Regions from separate parts of the Homo sapiens genome. Here all the other regions are linked to region 3. Evidence: promoter capture Hi-C in human tissues and cell types (Jung and others, 2019). All regions are on one chromosome and are shown on one strand. The core of a region is centred on a gene start or on the middle of the fragment in contact, and the rest is flanking DNA. Distances in the headings are between cores, read along the strand shown.

The links. Contacts are between HindIII fragments. The study calls those that stand out against the background at their distance.
Region 1: a contact is called between a fragment that was not itself captured here and the fragment with the promoter of DCT in region 3, in 3 of the 25 tissues and cell types used here (dorsolateral prefrontal cortex, small bowel and spleen).
Region 2: a contact is called between a fragment that was not itself captured here and the fragment with the promoter of DCT in region 3, in 2 of the 25 tissues and cell types used here (dorsolateral prefrontal cortex and thymus).

What each region holds. Positions count from the first base shown.
Region 1 is chr13:94,426,713-94,429,553 of GRCh38, forward strand. No RefSeq gene overlaps it. Among named protein-coding and RNA genes, the nearest start is that of DCT, 52 kb to the right of the region's middle. The HindIII fragment of the contact is 6,484 bases long and covers 1-2,841 here.
Region 2 is chr13:94,444,466-94,447,281 of GRCh38, forward strand. All of the region lies in intron 6 of DCT (dopachrome tautomerase), which reads right to left. Among named protein-coding and RNA genes, the nearest start is that of DCT, 34 kb to the right of the region's middle. The HindIII fragment of the contact is 3,651 bases long and covers 1-2,816 here.
Region 3 is chr13:94,478,395-94,481,094 of GRCh38, forward strand. It overlaps DCT (dopachrome tautomerase), which reads right to left and starts at 1,288. Exons shown (of 8, transcript NM_001922.5): 1 at 567-1,288. The coding sequence starts at 861. The HindIII fragment of the contact is 3,749 bases long and covers 361-2,700 here.

The DNA of each region.
Region 1 (2,841 bases), core at 251-2,750, 51 kb before region 3:
GGGTTGACTTATGAAACCAGATGCTCCATTAGAGACTGAATTTATTTTGCCGTGTGGGTTGATTTCTTTTTCTTTGCTCCAAAGAGAAAGATACCTGAACATCACCTGGGGCATCCTAAGGAAGGTGAGTCCCTGAGCCTGGATCCCTTTGGGAGTGGATGGGTCCCATGAAAAATCTTGTTTGGGGCTGGGTGCGGTGGCTCATGCCTGTAATCCCAGCACTTTGGGAGGCCGAGGCGAGTGGATCACTTGAGGTCAGGAGTTCAAGACCAGCCTGTCCAACATGATGAAACCCCATCTGTACTAAAAACACAAAAATTAGCCAGCTGTAGTGGTAGGTGCTTGTAGTTGTAGCTACTTGGGAGACTGAGGCAGGAGAATCACTTGAACCCAGGAAGCAGAGGCTGCAGTGAGCCAAGATCATGCCACTGCATGCCAGCCTGGGCAACGGAGTGAGATTCTGTCTCAAAAAAAAAAAAAAAAAATCCTGTTTTGCCTCTCTTGGAAATAAGAACAGGCAATGCCATTGACCCATAAAAGAAGTATAATCAAGCATTTTGAGTTCTAAGATTTGTAAAAGAAAAAGCTCCTGGGCCCAAAGAGAAAACACACCCCTTTTTCTGCAGGAAAGGGATCAGTTTGTTCAGGAACAAGAGGTGCCAAACCCTGGGATAACTGGTACCCTGGGAAAGGCCTGAATGTGGCACTGAGAGAGTTGAACTCAACAGCTGCCAGCAGAGGAGGCCACACCTTGCACACTGGGAAAGTCCAGCACCCCTGAGAAGGCAGCGGTAGACAAATGAGCGAACAGTGCATGATCCTTGCAGTATAGAGTGGATCAGCGTCACCTGCTGAACTGTTTACAGCCAGATTTCAAAATCCACACCATGGGCTAATGAGAAATAACAGCAAGAGGAGATTAATAAATCACCAGTGCTTCCTTCGTAGGGGTGGAAATCAGACTGAGGACTACATAAGCCTCAGGCAACTTTGAGTAATTCAACAGGGGAAAGCTCAGAAAGATATTCTAGATTTCCCACTAATATAGCAAGCTGGTCACATAGCAATTAACTGGAAAAAAAGAGATGTAATCATATCTGGACTCCAAGGTTACTATCTCAGTCATGCCTGTTACTTTTTGGGGGAAAAAAAAGCCTTTTTAATCAGGGTTAGGAATACGATTTTCATTTGTTAAGTATTGAATTTGTAACAGTGATGAGGGGTAAAAGAGCAAAATTTTATCTGCCTTTGTTTCTTTAAATTTTGTTCAGGAAGTGTATAATCTCCAGTGGGGGCAGGGGAGATGTATAATGCCTTATTTCCTTCGTTTAAATAAATAGACATTATTTTTATGTTTTAGGGCCTAATAAAAAAAATAGTTCAGATTAGGATTGCAGGTTAAAATTAGCCTTGGCCAAATAGCACGTATCTGAGAGCAGCGGATTCTAATTTTAATCACAGGGAATAGCCAAAGAAGCTGGAAATAAAAATTCAACAATAAATATGTATTTCCAGAGAGTTTAAAATATTTACAAAAATTCCTAATTACACCTCACCATTTTGATGTAATTTCTGAGGATATATTTTTAGGACTTTGCATTTCTTTCTATTCTTTCTCTTCACAATTAAATCCATAGATATCCACCTTGCATTCCAATGAAGTTAAATCTACCCCCACTTGGTTTCCATCTTTGTCTCACGTGTGTTATTTGTGAAATTTATCACTAGTATTAATCCTTCTCTCTCTTTTTTTTTTTTTTTTGCTTCATTTGGCATTCGCTTTTCTAAAATATTAAGGGGTAAACATTAAATTAAATATTCAAATAGGTGCACAAATACTGCAGGAGAGAAAAACCTAACAATTCTGTTGAAACTGAGCTGTTACCTGACAGGTGACACACAGCACAACATAGCTCACAATTTTTTTTGGTTCAACGATATAAGCAAATCCAATGTGCAATTTGTAAGGCAGGCCTAAAGTGTCAGTGCATAATTTCTGGAAGAATATGTTATAGTACAACAGTCAAATGTGTGAAAGACAACAAAATATACAAAGACAAATAAATGACCTCTGGAAGGTTAAAATTCTAAGTCAAAGCCTCCAAGGATTTGGACACATGCTGAGCAGAGAGAAGACTCTTCATTTCTCTTGACTGTTTTGTAAGGCAGTAAATAGCTCAAGCTCCAGACTGAGCAGTGAGGAGCTAATCAGCTCTTTTCCTCCCAATCACCCAAACCCCTCTGCCTCTCTCCCACCCCAAAGCTAAGCCCAGCAGGCAAACCAAGAAAACAGGAGGCTGTGATTATCCAAAGTATGCCTGTAGTAAGTCCAACCTGAGCCCGCCATTAAAGCTGTTCATCTCTTAGAAAGAATTGGAAACTGGGAACATTTTCTCTGGTTTCACTAGCAGAAAAAATGCAATCGGTAATGAAGCAGAAGCACCATGTCAACTGCTTAAAGTTCACTCACATTTAACATTTCACACACCATTTACATTCCAGTTCTCTCTCCACCAAGTGGAAAAGGCAATGGTGCCCTTTGGGGCTTAGCAGGATGGTTGGATCTCCTTGAAGTGCTTCCCTCTCTGTCACTCTTCCTTTTCTTCATTTCTCACTCAGTGGTGAGAGATCTTGATGCCAACTGGAACCACCTGTACCTCAGTGACCCACCTGAGCACCAAAAAATCACACAGGTTCTTCTGCCATGAGTGAAAGAGCAATGAGCTTACAGAGCTAAGTCCCACTTAGCTTTTCAAATATCTTTATGTACTCTGAAGAGCCTATATTTGAGTTCTGAAGCCAGGATTTCTTGTCTTGATCCATGAAATCTAACCTGCTGCA
Region 2 (2,816 bases), core at 283-2,782, 34 kb before region 3:
TATGTTTTCTCAAGGAAGCCATTAAAGTCCTTTTAAAATATAGCAATTACTATATGTTTTGAAATATTAACAGCAAAATTTCCACATTGATAGCCCTGATTTTGTAACATGATACAAGTTTGAGAGTTCAGTCCCACCTTGATGGCAGTTGTTGGAGTTCCTTGTTCCTTCCTGGATGGTAAGTTCAAGGAGCTCAGGGGCAGTGTCCTTTTTTCATTCCCCCTGGATCCCCAGAGCTTGTCACCCCAGGGTGTCTCATATGGAGAAAGGGAGGTACTTATTTCAGTAAATACTTATTCAGTGTATTCATTCCTCCATTCACCACTGTACCTTGTACCTCATTTATAGCACTGATCAAATGATACTATAACTTGTTATTTATGTATCTATGTCCCCTAACAAGATCCTAACTCCTTAAGGTCTAAGATAAGGACTTTTCACCTTTGAAGTCTCAGGTTTAGTATACAACCTGGACAGAGTCAATGTTTACTAACTATGTGTTTGCTGATGACAGTGTCATGCAGACACTTTGCATACAGTGCAAAGCTTAGCATACAACCTGGACAGAGTCAATATTTACTAAGTATGTGTTGGCTGATGACAGTGTCATGCATCTTTATTTACATAAACAGTTTGTGCAAATAAACAGTGTCTAGGGATATACAAAAATATATTTTCCAAAGAAGGCCACACAATGTTTGTTTCTTGACTAACATGCTTTTCTAGAATCTTGCCACTCCCTCATTGAAGGTTGGCTTCATCTGGCCTTCCCTTGAAACTTGGTGAGTTTCTGACTCTTTTATAACCAATAAAATGCAACAGAAGTGACATTTTGTGACTTTCAAGGTTAAATCATAAAGTGTATTGCAGTTCCTATCTTGTGCCTGAGCCCTGAACCATCAAATAAGCAGTCCAGCTGTCCTGAGGCAGCCATGCTGTGAAGAAGCCCAAACCAACTCATATAGAGTGACCATGATGGCGAGGCTCAAGATTTCAGGAAGAAAAACAGATAGCGGGCCAGTCCACAGCTGTTCCAACACCTATCACCATCTGACTGCAGCTGCACTGAAAGATGCTAGGCTAGAACTGCCTAGTCAAGCCCTTCCAAAATTCCTGACCCACAGAAATGGTAAGAAATGAAATGGTCACCTTCAAGCCACTGAGTGTTTGGGTAATCGTAATCTGTTATGCAGAAATGGATAAACACAACAAAGGAAAAAAACCTGAGTAGAGCCTCCCAGGCTCATGGTTACCAGCACATGCAGGGAAGGGAGTTCCTTGGTCGCTTTCTCTTTTCTGTTGAGACACAAAATTTAATAGAAATTTTGTTTGTAGTTCTTACATTCTCAGTGTGAGCTGAATTGGGACCCGCTGCCCCATGCAGAAGTGGCCCATTCCTGGAGGCAGGGGAGAAACTGTGGGGGGGCGGGGTGAAATGGGAAGAGCCCCATTCTTCCTCAGTGTTGGGGGGCTAGAGATGCCACCCCCTTTTCCTGGCCCCCTCTGGGTTCCAGGAAGGAGAACAGATGGAATGTCAGGCCTGAGACTTCTCCTCCACACTGCTGCCCCCTGGGTGGGAGGGTAGCTAAGAGATCCAGACAGAGAATGAGAAGGCAGAGGTGGTGAAACGGGGATAGTGACGCAGCTTGAGATGAATAAAACACAGCCTGTGGAGCTGATGATCCAGGATCACAGAGGTCTGTAAACCTCAACAGTGGACACCAATAACATGGCACTGAGAAGGTAGGGAAGATAATATATATTAGGTACCTAGTACACAGCACCTTTCTTGTAGGAAATGGTTATTCAATGGTTGTTATCACTATGACTATACCATCAGTACTATTATTATTTTAACTTGGGACAAGGACTTATGGAAGAAGAATGATGGAATTCGCATTTTGCAGGTGGGTGGGGCCTGCAAGCACCTCTGAAATCACACACACTGTACATATAGCCAATGAGGAGCTGGGCATTTAGGAATGCATGTGGCACATGCCTAGCACTTTTTGATAAGTAAATTAGTGAGTATTTATTAGTGTTTGCTCAATTACCCAAAATGACATATTGAATCCTCAAAGCAGCCTGATTTGGTGGATATTATTTGTTTGCTCAGGCTGCTGTAACAAAGTACTACAGACTGGGTGGCTTAGACAACAGGCATTTGTCTTACGGTTGGAGACAGTGTCTCGCTTCTAGGCAGCTGGAAGTCCAACACCAAGATGTCAGTGGGGCTGGTTCCTTCTAAGCACTGTGAGGGAAAATCTGTTCCAGACCTCACTCCTACCTTCTCGGGCCTTGCTGACAATCTTTGGCATTCCTTGCCTTGTAGATCTCTATCTTCATCCTCATGCAGTGTTCTCCCTGTGTGCAGGTGCCTATGTCCAAATTTTCCCTTTTTATAGGGACACCACTCACACTAGATTAGGGACCTACTCTACTCCAGTATGACATTTTATGTTAATAAACTATATCTGCAGCTATCCTATTTCCAAACAAGGTGACATTCTGAGTTATTAGCTATTAGGACTTTGACATATGAATTTTGTGGGGGACAATTCAACCCATAACATTATTACCCTGTTTTACAGATGGGGAATAAAAGGCACAAAAGTGTTAAGTGACTTGCCTAAGGTCACACAGCTAATATATGGTAGAGTAAGAATTTGAACCCAGGAAGTCTGGTTCTAAAGTGAGAGTTCCTAATCCACATACTCTACTTCCTCTACACCACCGGTCCCCAACCTTTTTGGCACCAGGGACTGGTTTTCGAGGAAGACAATTTTCACGGACCAGGGGGTGGTGGATGGGAAGGG
Region 3 (2,700 bases), core at 38-2,537:
TGAACCCGGGAGATGGAGGTTGCAGTGAGCTGAGATAGCACCATTGCACTCCAGCCACGGTGACAAAGCGAGACTCCATCTCCAAAAAAAAGAGAGAGAGAGAGATCTGTTCAAATCATGAGAAATGCTGAGACCAGAACACCTGCCTTTGACTCCTGTCTTCCGAATGCCAAGCTTCACCCATCCCTTTTCAACAAGTGCAAACCCATTTCAGGAGAGGGCACCGAATCCATCTTGAAAGGACTTGCTCCGAGTTTCAAAGCTGACGCTTTTAAGCTCTTAAATTCCCCTTCCAACAAACAAGCCAATAGTATGTTGGCATGCATTCATATAAGCAGGCTTGGCCCACGCCATATTTATTTAGTCTTCATAACTAGATGTACTAGAGGGTGTGAAGAATAAACCAGCACATCAGCCTTATTGAATATGCTTCCGACCAAAACCATCATTGGTTTGCCTTTCAAAGCCTAATCTAAGAGTCTCTGTCAAGAGTCTCATCTCTTCCTTAGAAGGAGCTCTTTCCCCAGCTCTGGCCCTCCCCACCAAGCTTGGAGCATGGGCCTCACCTGTGCACTTGCAGGTCCGGTGGAAGAATTTTCTTGGCCACAGCTCACGGTCATCCTGGTTTCGTAGGATGTAGGGACCACTCCAGGGCCTTGTGTCGGCTCGCACCTCTGTGCACTGCCCCCGGCCTTGCTGAGAGCCACAGACATTGGCCGACTCTGCACCCAGGCGTGGGCAGCACTCCTTGTTCACTAGGCTGTCCACCGTCATGCAGACTCGGGGGAACTGACCCTGGGCTCCTGGCAGGATTTTGCAGCCCAAGCAACTGAGCAGAAACCCCCACCAAAGGGGGCTCATGGCTTTATAATTGGGAGAGCTCTCTCTCTCTCTTACTTTCCTTGTCTCTGTCGTACTTTTCTCCTTATCTTCTACTCTTTCAGTCTTTTCTTTTCAGTATTTTTTATTTTTCTTTGCTTTCTATTCCTTTCTTCTTAAAAAAATACCCACAAGAATCACAGAGGTTACATGTGTGCACATGTGTACATGAACGTGCACACACAATTTTATGTGATTCAAACAACTAACAGACTTAATTTCCTTAGAAGCGCCTCTAACAACCAAATTTAATGAGGGTAGCGCTTCTCACCATCTTCCCCCGTTAAGTCAGGCTTTGTCTAATTGAGTTAATTTACAGAGCACCCAGTCATACTACTTATTATGCTGGTATTTCTAAACCCTCTCCCTCCCTCCTTAGCTCTTGACTTTAATTGCCTTGAACTCAGTTCAAAAGCCAAACACCGTGCTGCTTTTATTCTCTCTGGCTTGCCAAGCCACGGGGCCTTGGGGGCTTGTGTAAGGGCTGGGAGAAGCCTTCATTAGGGGGATTAGTATTACAGAAACCCTCATCATTAGCACATGACCCAAAGTGCACAATAAAGGAGATCACTTCTGGCTTTATTTCAGGAGGGCAAAACCATCTTCTTTATCTGGGCTCATGTGCTCCAGCCAAACTTGTGACCTCAGACATCCTGGGGAGTCAGTAGATGCAGTGAGCTCTTCGTCAAAGACCCTTTACACAGAAGCTCACATTGCCAACTACAATGCACTCATGGCTGCTTTCTGACATGTGTGCAAAAAAGACCACAACAGGGGGTCATGCAACTTCAAAAATAAAGAAACATTTATGTAGAACCAGGGTACAAGGAATTGCTTTGTTCCACAATTGGGAATCCTCTTCCCTCCAAATAATAACTTACTCTTCTCCTATTCAGCACATCTACGCAGCAATTTTTTTTTAATTACATGAAGTAGCATGCCACCAGAAACTCACAATTGTCATTATCTGATTGTATGGAAGGCACTGGAACCATTTGGAATGAAGGCTTGCAAGCAAATCTTTTTGATTAGACTAAAGTGAAGCATGACTGAGCTTCAGTCTAGAAAGCAATGCCTCCTGGTGCTTCTGGAGAATGGTCAGGTCAGCAATGGTGGCCACCTGTCAGAACATCCATTTATTTTTTCACAGTGGAAACAGGACTGTCTTGGTAACTGTTTCACAGTGGAAACAGGACTTAGTGCCACAAGGATGCGAAACGGCTTCAGCTAGTTTCTAAGAATATACTTGAATGTAAAGACACATATTGTTATGTTTCAAAGCAAATTCCTAAGGTGAAACAATTATATAGGTATTCCCACCCCCTGTACCTCTGTGCCACCCCTTGATGTTAAGTTGTTGTGACTAATTAAATGGCAATTCTTATGTCTGACTCTACACCAATATCAGCCTGTACCACAGCCCTACTGAATCAGAATCTCTGAGGATGTTCCAGACACCAACCAACCTTTGTTAGAAAACATCTAGGCAATTCTAATGCTCAGCCAGAGTTGAGAATCACTGAATCAGAATACAGCAGAGCTCCAAAGGAAATATTGCATCAGCATCAGCTAAAAGAGACCATGTGCAATAGTTTCCTGAGGCTTCTGTAACAAATGACCACAAACTGGATGACTGAAAACAACAGAAATCTATTTTCTCACTGTTCTGAAGGCCAGAAGTCTAAAATGAAGGTGTTGGCAGGACTGGCGTGTGTCAGCCAGGCGGCTGCACTCTCCCTGGAGACTCTAGGCTAGAATCCTCCTTGCCTTTTCAAGCTTCTGGCAGCTGCTGTCAATCCTTGGCTTGAAACCGCAGCTCCA